Regions from separate parts of the Homo sapiens genome. Here all the other regions are linked to region 3. Evidence: promoter capture Hi-C in 16 types of primary human blood cells and fetal thymus (Javierre and others, 2016). All regions are on one chromosome and are shown on one strand. Each heading gives the region's core, a stretch centred on a gene start or on the middle of the fragment in contact. The rest is flanking DNA. Distances are from core to core; before and after follow the strand shown.

Region 1 (2,700 bases), core at 65-2,564, 1.1 Mb before region 3:
TACAAGGGGCTACGCATTTCCTGATGCATAATTTTTGCCCTAGCACTTCCAGTTGGACTTCAGAGACTTCGCCAGCTTGGAATTGTAGTGTCTGCTTTTTTAGAGCACCAGTCTGAAAAAAAAATAGTGAAAAAGCAAGCTGCAGAGTGGGAGAAGGTATTTGCTACATATATAAACAATATAAAGCTCAGATGCAGAATATATATAAATAACTTGAAGGTGTTAAAATAAAGACAAGGCCAGGCACAGTGGCTCACACCTGTAATCCCAGCACTTTGGGAGGCCGAGGGGGGCGGATCACAAGGTCAGGAGATCGGGACCATCCTGGCCAACATGGTGAAACCCCATCTCTACCAAAAATACAAAAATTAGCTGGGTGTTGTGGCGCATGCCTGTAATCCCAGCTACTCGGGAGGCTGAGGCATGAGAATCACTTGAACCCAGGAGGCAGAGATTGCAGTGAGCCGAAATCGCGCCACTGCACTCCAGCCTGGCGACAGAACCGAGGTGGGCAGATCATGAGGTCAGGAGATCGAGACCATCCTGGCTAACACGATGAAACCTCATCTCTACTAAAAATACAAAAAATTAGCCGGGCGTGGTGGCGAGCGCCTGTGGTCCCGGCTACTCGGGAGGCTGAGGCAGGAGAATGGCGTGAACCCGGGAGGCGGAGCTTGCAGTGAGCCAAGATCGTGCCACTGCACTCCAGCCTGGGCGACAGAGCAAGACTCCGTCTCAAAAAAAAAAAAAAAAAAAAAAAAAAAAAAAAAAAAATGAAGCGTTTGTTGAACACCATGTTGCTCTTCCCAGAAACCAGGTAACTAGTATGATTTTATTTCAGGACAATCAACTGAGCAACTTCTTGCAGGGTCAGGGGCAGAGGGTAGAAGTGGTATTACAGCACCTAGTTTATTGCCTTACAATCAATAAATAGAGGGTGAATGAAAAGAAACCCAATAGTTAAAGTGTAAGCTAATTGGTACTAACTACAAATATGGGTTGAATGAAAACAAACCCAACATGCTTTAGGTTTTTTAATACAATCTTATCCACATGAGTTTAGGGTCTTGTCCTATCACCTTGGCTTCTGTTCCCTTTCTGTATTCATCACAGGAAATTTTCAAGTTTTATGAAACCAGCTAGAGCGGAGTTTTATTAACCAGCTGAGGGCGGACTAAAGACTTAACAGACCTGGGCGAAGAAGCAGCACTCCTACTTACTAGGGCAAGACTCATGAACAGGGGGCGGGGGCTCCGGGGGCGGGGACGCGCCCCGTTCTCTTTCGCTCTTCTTCCCGGCAGCCTTAGCGCCAGGCCCGGCGCTCCTCAAGATGGCTGCCGACAGTGAGGTGATTTCTTTGCTCCCTACTTAATCCTTGTCACTATCTAAATTCGTTCCTCATGTCTTCGCCTTGGGGCTTAATTTCTTTTTCTCTCCTTCCCCTTCCCGCAGCCCGAATCCGAGGTATTTGAGATCACGGACTTCACCACTGCCTCGGAATGGGAAAGGTGAGTGAATCGCATTTTTGGTTACCAGCTCCCATGGGCCCTGGCGTCCCCTAGCCGCTTCCCTGACCCCAGACACACCACAAGTGACGCCACTTGTGCGGGAACGGTAATACCGTGGGTCCCGGGTCTCCTCCCCCAGTCTTCTTTGGTCAACCGCAAGCCTCTTCCGCGTCTCGCGTCTGGCAACACCCGGCCCGCCCCCGTCAGCCAATCCCTGAGGCTCAGGCTCTCAGAAAGTTTTGTTTTCTCTCCTGTCAGACCGCTTCCCTTAGACTTTGGTTTTCTGGTTGTTACCCACTCGCAAGAAAAATTTCCGAGGCTGCAACAACCGTTCCGGTTTTCATTACCGTTTAACTCATTATCGTAAGCAGTAAACTTGGTAGGTTGTGCCGCACCTCATCCCGTGTACGTTGGTATACCCTTTTCAGGAGGAAGTCTTTCTTCAGAGTATTGGTAGTTGTCCATCTGTCACACTCCCACCATCTCCATGCTGTCTTTAATTTTTTATTTTTATTTATTTTTGGAGACAGAGTCTCAGTCTGTCCGCCCAGGCCGGAGTGCAGTGGCGAGGTCATAGCTTACTGCGGCCTCGAACTCCTAGGCTCAAGTGAAGCTCCCGCTTTAGCCTCGGGAGGAGCTGGGACCACAGGCACGCGCTATTACGCCCAACTAATTTTTTAAAGATCTCGCTGTGTTGCCCAGGCTAGTCTTGAACTCCTGGGCTCAAGCCTGGGCCGCCCAAAGTGCTGAGATTACAGGCGTGAGCCTCCGCCCATCCTGTCTTTTAGAATAACCTTTTTAAAAAGTCTGCATATGGTTTTGGAATGCTTTGATTTAAGTTGTTACATTAAAGTGGGTACTGTGCCCAGGCTTCCTGTGCCTGTCAAATTCAGATGAACAGCTGTCTGGGTGAAACTGTTCTATTACTGAAATTAGTTGAAAGCCAAGTTTGTGGAGGAGTGATAGCTTAGATCGAGAAGGTTTCTGTTAAGTGTCACAGAAACCCTTCAGTTTCCTGGGTGTTGAAGTCAGTGTTTACGCTGTTACAGCATTTTATAATCTTTCTGGTTGGGAGAGGAAATTTGTGGATGTCGTGTCATTAGGTGGCACAGGAAAATATAAAAGGTCCTTGTTGGAATAATAGTTAGACCTGTGGTACCCTTCATAAAAGTGTCAGTAAGACATAACCACA
Region 2 (2,700 bases), core at 141-2,640, 1.2 Mb before region 3:
TGCCCAGGCTGGTCTAGAACACTTTGGCCTCCCAAAGTGCTGGGATTACAGCCGGGAAACACTGCACCTGGCCAAGGGTTTGCACTTTTAAAATGTTGCTTTAAATCAATCTATTCCAGAAATTGTAAGCAACATAAAACGTAAAGCAAGGGAAGTGAGTATGAAATAGCAACTGTTACAAAAACTGCCTACTATAATCAATATTCTTGTGCAATGCAGTATGCTGAGCGTGGGAGCCCCATAACAATCACTTGCCTCCATGGTCTTTGGCAAATAGATATTACTTTATTTTTTATTTTCGAGACAAGGTCTTGCACTATCGCCCAAGCTGGGGTGCAGCAGCGAGATCTAGCTCACCGCAGCCTCCACCTCCTGGGCTCAAGCCATCCTCCCACTTCAGCCTCGGGAGTAGCTGGGACTACAGGCGCGCCACCAAACCTGGCTAATTTTTGTATTTTTGGTAGAGACGGGGTATCGCCATGTTGCCCTTGCCCTCGAACTCCTGACCTCAAGTGATCGGCCCACTGGACCTCCCCAAGTGCTGAGATTACAGGCGTGAGCCACCGTGCCCGGCCTCCAAATAGTTAAGACTTTAAACTTAGAAACCCTATTCACAACACAAACTCCGAGTGAAGCTCAGTGGCATTTTCTTACAGGAAGAAATACAGGAGTTAATCAACAGGTATGTGGGATGTTCCCACATCAAATCCTAAAGATAAAATTTTAACTCAGTTCCTCCTGCACTATCTGATTCTCCCCAACCTTGTCTCGCAGAAACCACAGCGCAGCCTGAAAACACGCCCCGTCTAGATTCAACACCTCATTTAGAAATTCAATTTCTCGTTGCTAGTTGGATAGCGTTTGCCAAGTAATTTGAAAAAATAAAAATAAACCAAGTGGTCTGGGATTTAAACAAGATAATGTAGGGTGAAAAAAGCACTCAGGTGCGGACAGCCATGGAGCGTGACTTCCTGTGCACTCTTTCCCCGCCAGCTCAACGCCAGAGCCGCGCGCTAGGCGGAGACTGTTGGTGGCGGAGGCCGGAGTCGCACGCCTACGAGACTGCGCGGACCCGCCCAAAAGGAAAATGGAAGTAGTGGCGTGAGGCTGCGACAGTGAAGGTTATTTTTCTCTTTTTAAAGGGCCGCTAGACCTCCCGTCTAAAGGAAGCGCCCGACGGGCCTCCGAAGTACACGCCCAGGCCCCCACAGCGCAGCCGCCCGACCGCCTCTCTTCACACCGGCCAGAGTCCACCCTCTCCCACTTTCCCCTCCCCTCCCCTCCCCGCCCCTTCCCTCCCCACCCCTTCGCCCCGCCAACCCTAGACCCGGCATGCGCTGCGCCGACCTTTTCCTTCCGAGCCGACCTCTCCACCTTCGGCGCCTCCCAATGACAAGCGGCGCGGAGCATTGTGGTCCCGTGCGCAAGAGCGAGGCCGAGGGCAGAAAAAGAAAGCAAAAGACTAGGGCGAGTCGGTAGAGCGGGCCCCGCGCATGCGCAAGGGCGGAGGCGGTGGTGAAAAAGGGTGGTGCGTGGTCTACGGCGAGCGGAGTGGGGCGGGGTCGCGCGCCTTGGCGGGGAGTCCGCGAGCCAGGAGGGGCGGGGGGTGAATGAAGGAGCGGGCGGAGGAGGAAGTGTCATGGCGTCGGGCCGTGGAGCTTCTTCTCGCTGGTTCTTTACTCGGGAACAGCTGGAGAACACGCCGAGCCGCCGCTGCGGAGTGGAGGCGGATAAAGAGCTCTCGTGCCGCCAGCAGGCGGCCAACCTCATCCAGGAGATGGGACAGCGTCTCAATGTGTATCCTTTTCTGTTCGCCGCCGCTCACGCCCTGTTTCCCTTGCCCGGTCGCCGGGCCTGGTGCCCCGCGAACATGGCGCCGCCGGCCTCGGCCTTCGCTGGGCCTCGGCGCCGCGGTCAGGGAAGTAATGTTCCGGCTCGGGCAGTCGCGAGGGGTCAGCAGAGGAAGGGAGGAGGAGATAGGACCCCAGGAATGCGGGCCAGGAGCCTGCGTTGTGTAATCTGTTTGGGGCAGCGCGTGGTGGTGGCGGCGGGGGTTGGGAGTGTGGCTCAGGCGAAAGAGGAATTTTAGGGATTATTGCAGAAAAGGGGCGGCTCCCTGGACTTGTCCCTGACCCCGAAGGGTTTGAGAGGTAGGAGGGTTAGCGATGCTGAAAGGCCTAAGTGTTTGCCGCAGCCTTTCCCGGCTCTCGTCGCCGGCTTGATGGCGGCTCTCTTCTACCTTGGGAGCGTACTGGAGTTCTTTATGTTCTTGGCGTGGTTTTGTATGGGTGTGTGCGCGCGCGTTTCAACTGTTTCATTTTGAGTTTAGTTAGTCGTAGCCATTGATAAATAGTTCCAGGGCCCTCAGCGCTGTTAGAGTGAAAAGATCAGCAGTTCTTATTCCCATTTATTTGGCGTCAAGCCTATTCTCTTCCTGCCGCCCCACCCCCCGCGGGCATTTATTTCTTTATTTCCAGTTTGGGGTTTGGATTTGAATGGGAGGTATTGGAAAAGAACCTGGGAATTTTCCATCAAAATTGTTCTGGGAATGAGATCTTGCTTTTGTCAGATATTTCCTAAATATTACGTTCCAGCTCTCAGCTTACAATAAACACTGCGATTGTTTATATGCACAGGTTTTATATGCACCATTCTTTCACCAAATTCAACAAAAATGTAAGTACTAGTTGTCTGTTTTTA
Region 3 (2,700 bases), core at 166-2,665:
AAGTTTCATTTCCTCACTCTCCCGGGTGGCTTCCCATTACCCCGCCACTGATCCAGTTAACCCGGCCGGAGGTGGGCAGCTGGAAGCCTCCAGGCGGTGGGCACGCGGGGGGCCGGGTCGTCCAGCCCCGGGCCGCCGCGGCTGCCCACTACACCCACGCCAACCGCCCGCAAGCAGCGCTGCAGGGGCTCCGCTGGGCGACACGCCAGGCTCTGTCCCACAGGGTGCTGGGGAGCGACTGGGCGGCTCCGCCGCGAGCGTCTTTGAATTGCGCGCCGCTGCAGGAAACCAAAAACTCCCTAGCAAGAGGGTTTCAAAAGGTTTCTGGAAACCACCGACGGTTAAACATCACAACTGGACTCGGAGAGAGCCAAACGGTTTCCCCACTTGCACCTGCCAGTCTTCGCGGCGGCGACCTGGCAGCCCAGGTGCGGTCTTAACCGCCCCCGCCCCTCACCCCGTACCCGCTCCTATCCCCGGAGCGCAAATCTCAGGGCTGGCAGCTGCGCGGTGTCAAAGGGGAGGTCAAACCACTCCGCTGACCTCTGCACGACCCCAAACTCTCGAACTGCAGGACCCACTCGCGGCCGTGGGGAAGAGGCGCGCTTCGGACGGCGGGAAGGTTTTCCCCCTCAAACCCAAAGCGCGCGGGCGGATCAACTCCTAGCTGCTGCCACCACTCGATCCCCTCAGAGGATCGGCGCGGTGGGTCCACCCGCCTCTCCCGCCCTCTGCCTACTGTGCTGGGAGACTGGCACAGCTCCGTCGGCCGCACAGAGTTTAACAAACACGCACCCAGTGTCAAGAACAGTCACCAGGCGCTTAACCCCGAAGTTAAAGCGGGCGCAATCTCCTCCTGGGAACTCAGCCCAGGCACGCCGCCCTCCGCCTCTAAATTCAGACAATGTAACTCGCTCCAAGACATCCCCGCTTCCCCAAGGAAGAGACCGGTGGTCTGAGTCCCGAGGCAGCGCGCACGCCTTCTCTGCACTTGTGCACAGAATGTTCTTACGTTTGCAAACAGCGTGCAAGCCGCCGCGCGCGGCGGGACTCAAGGGGGAGACACATGCAGCCACTGGAACGCTCTTTCCAGTCGTTTCTCCTCGACTCACAGAGAAAAAGATTCCAATCCTGCTCCCCCCCCACCCACCCGCACTATATAGGCATGGTCAAGAAAACTCCTTTCGGTGACCCTTTTTTGGAGTACGGGTACCTCCAATGTCCTGGCCGCTTCTGCCCGCTCGGAGAGGGGCTGCGCTCTAAGTTCAAACGTTTGTACATTTATGACAAAGCAGGTTGAAACTGGACTTACACTGATCCCCTCCATGGTAACCGCTGGTTCTCCAGATGCGGTGGCTACTGGAGCACTCAGGCCCTCGGCGTCACTTTGCTACCTGCTGCCGCAGCCAACAAACTGAAGTTTCTGGCCGCGGCCGGACTTTTATAAAAACACGCTCCGAGCGCGGCGCATGCGCCGCTGGGGCGGGGAGGGAGAAGGCGGGGTGGGGGAGAGGGGCAGACGCGAGGAAGGAGGGCGCAGGGGCGGGGCGGAGAGGTGCGCGGCTTGGGAAGCCCAGGGGACCCTGCTGTTTGCGGGTGGTCGGTAGTGAGTCCGGAGCCGGACAGGACCTCCCAGAGGCATTTCCTAAGTTTGAGGGAAGCGGGATGCGCCTGAAGACAGGTGGGAAGCGCGGGCTAGGAACGCGTCTCTCTGTGGCGCGTCCATCCTTGCTAAAGTGGATGGAATTCCAGACCTGGGAATGCTACAGTAGAGACACTGAGGCCCAGGGAAGGGGAGTGACTTGCTGGAGTAACCCAACCAGTAGGCGGCAATGCTGGAAGTAGGGCCAAGCTTCCAACGCCATTCCCCGCGCTTTCAGCAGACGCAGCCCATTCAGGAGGTAAAAGGAGTAAAGATCCTTCCTTCGGAGGATGTAGCTATACTTGCACATTCACAGCATCACTAGGGTCAGGTGCAGATAATTAGGAGATACTTTCAGAAGAAGGTAGGATTTGGCATAATTCTGGAGACTGATCAGATGTAGATATGTATTGCTCAGTAATTTCATAATAGCGGTAACCAATTCGCGAATAGTGCTTTATTATCCTAAAAGTATGCTTTATTATAAGAGTAATTTAGCGACCAGTACTTTTTGTAACAGATCACTAGGAACTTGCACAGAATCACTCATTCATTCTCACAACACCGTGTGGGTATTACCATCACAGAGATGCATTTAGTCCGATATTTATAGAAGGACGAACTGCGTGCCACGCACTGTTCTAGGCGTTGGGGATCCAGCGTGAACCAGACAAGGCCCGCATTCGGAGAAACCAGCAAATAAGCCCGGAGAGATGAAATGCCAGGGATGGGCAGGGATTCCAAGCCGGGCTTGAACCCAGGTCTTCGGTCCCCATACTCGGCGTCTTCCACGATTTTGAGCAGAGGACAAGCTTTGGCACGAATCAGAAATTAGGTTGAAGAACTGGGCGGGGCGGAGTGGGGGTGGGGGTCAGACGTTTAAAGCGATCTCAGACTGGCTGAGGTTTGCAGTGGGCGCGCAGACAGTGCTTTCCCCCTCGCGCCACTTCCCTCCGGCGCGGAGACTGGGTGGGGCGGGGGAGCGAGTGTGGGGCGGGGCCGAGAAACTGCGTCCGCAGGCGGGGTGGCCGCTGCGGAGATAGCTGGGACCGAGGCGC

What was found. The method cuts DNA at HindIII sites, captures the fragments that hold promoters and counts their contacts. A CHiCAGO score of 5 or more calls a contact.
Region 1: the fragment with the promoter of RAB3GAP1 here is called in contact with the fragment with the promoter of CXCR4 in region 3 in 2 of 17 cell types (fetal thymus and monocytes); the score reaches 5.7 in fetal thymus.
Region 2: a contact is called between the fragment with the promoter of CCNT2-AS1 here and the fragment with the promoter of CXCR4 in region 3, in 1 of 17 cell types (fetal thymus). The highest score is 7.5, in fetal thymus.

Annotation. Positions count from the first base shown.
Region 1 is chr2:135,050,978-135,053,677 of GRCh38, forward strand. It overlaps RAB3GAP1 (RAB3 GTPase activating protein catalytic subunit 1), which reads left to right and starts at 1,315. Exons shown (of 24, transcript NM_012233.3): 1 at 1,315-1,348; 2 at 1,453-1,508. The coding sequence starts at 1,331. RefSeq lists an enhancer at 1,888-2,027. The HindIII fragment of the contact is 10,130 bases long and covers 1-2,700 here.
Region 2 is chr2:134,917,216-134,919,915 of GRCh38, forward strand. It overlaps CCNT2-AS1 (CCNT2 antisense RNA 1), which reads right to left and starts at 1,391. Exons shown (of 5, transcript NR_036549.1): 1 at 1,348-1,391. It overlaps CCNT2 (cyclin T2), which reads left to right and starts at 1,607. Exons shown (of 9, transcript NM_058241.3): 1 at 1,607-1,797; 2 at 2,595-2,676. The coding sequence starts at 1,640. RefSeq lists enhancers at 517-566, 576-1,249, 1,327-1,486, 1,637-1,906, 2,117-2,206 and a silencer at 1,247-1,316. The HindIII fragment of the contact is 7,926 bases long and covers 1-2,700 here.
Region 3 is chr2:136,116,734-136,119,433 of GRCh38, forward strand. CXCR4 (C-X-C motif chemokine receptor 4) reads right to left here and starts at 1,416. Exons shown (of 2, transcript NM_003467.3): 1 at 1,313-1,416. The coding sequence starts at 1,327. RefSeq lists a silencer at 38-207 and an enhancer at 338-407. The HindIII fragment of the contact is 7,141 bases long and covers 1-1,850 here.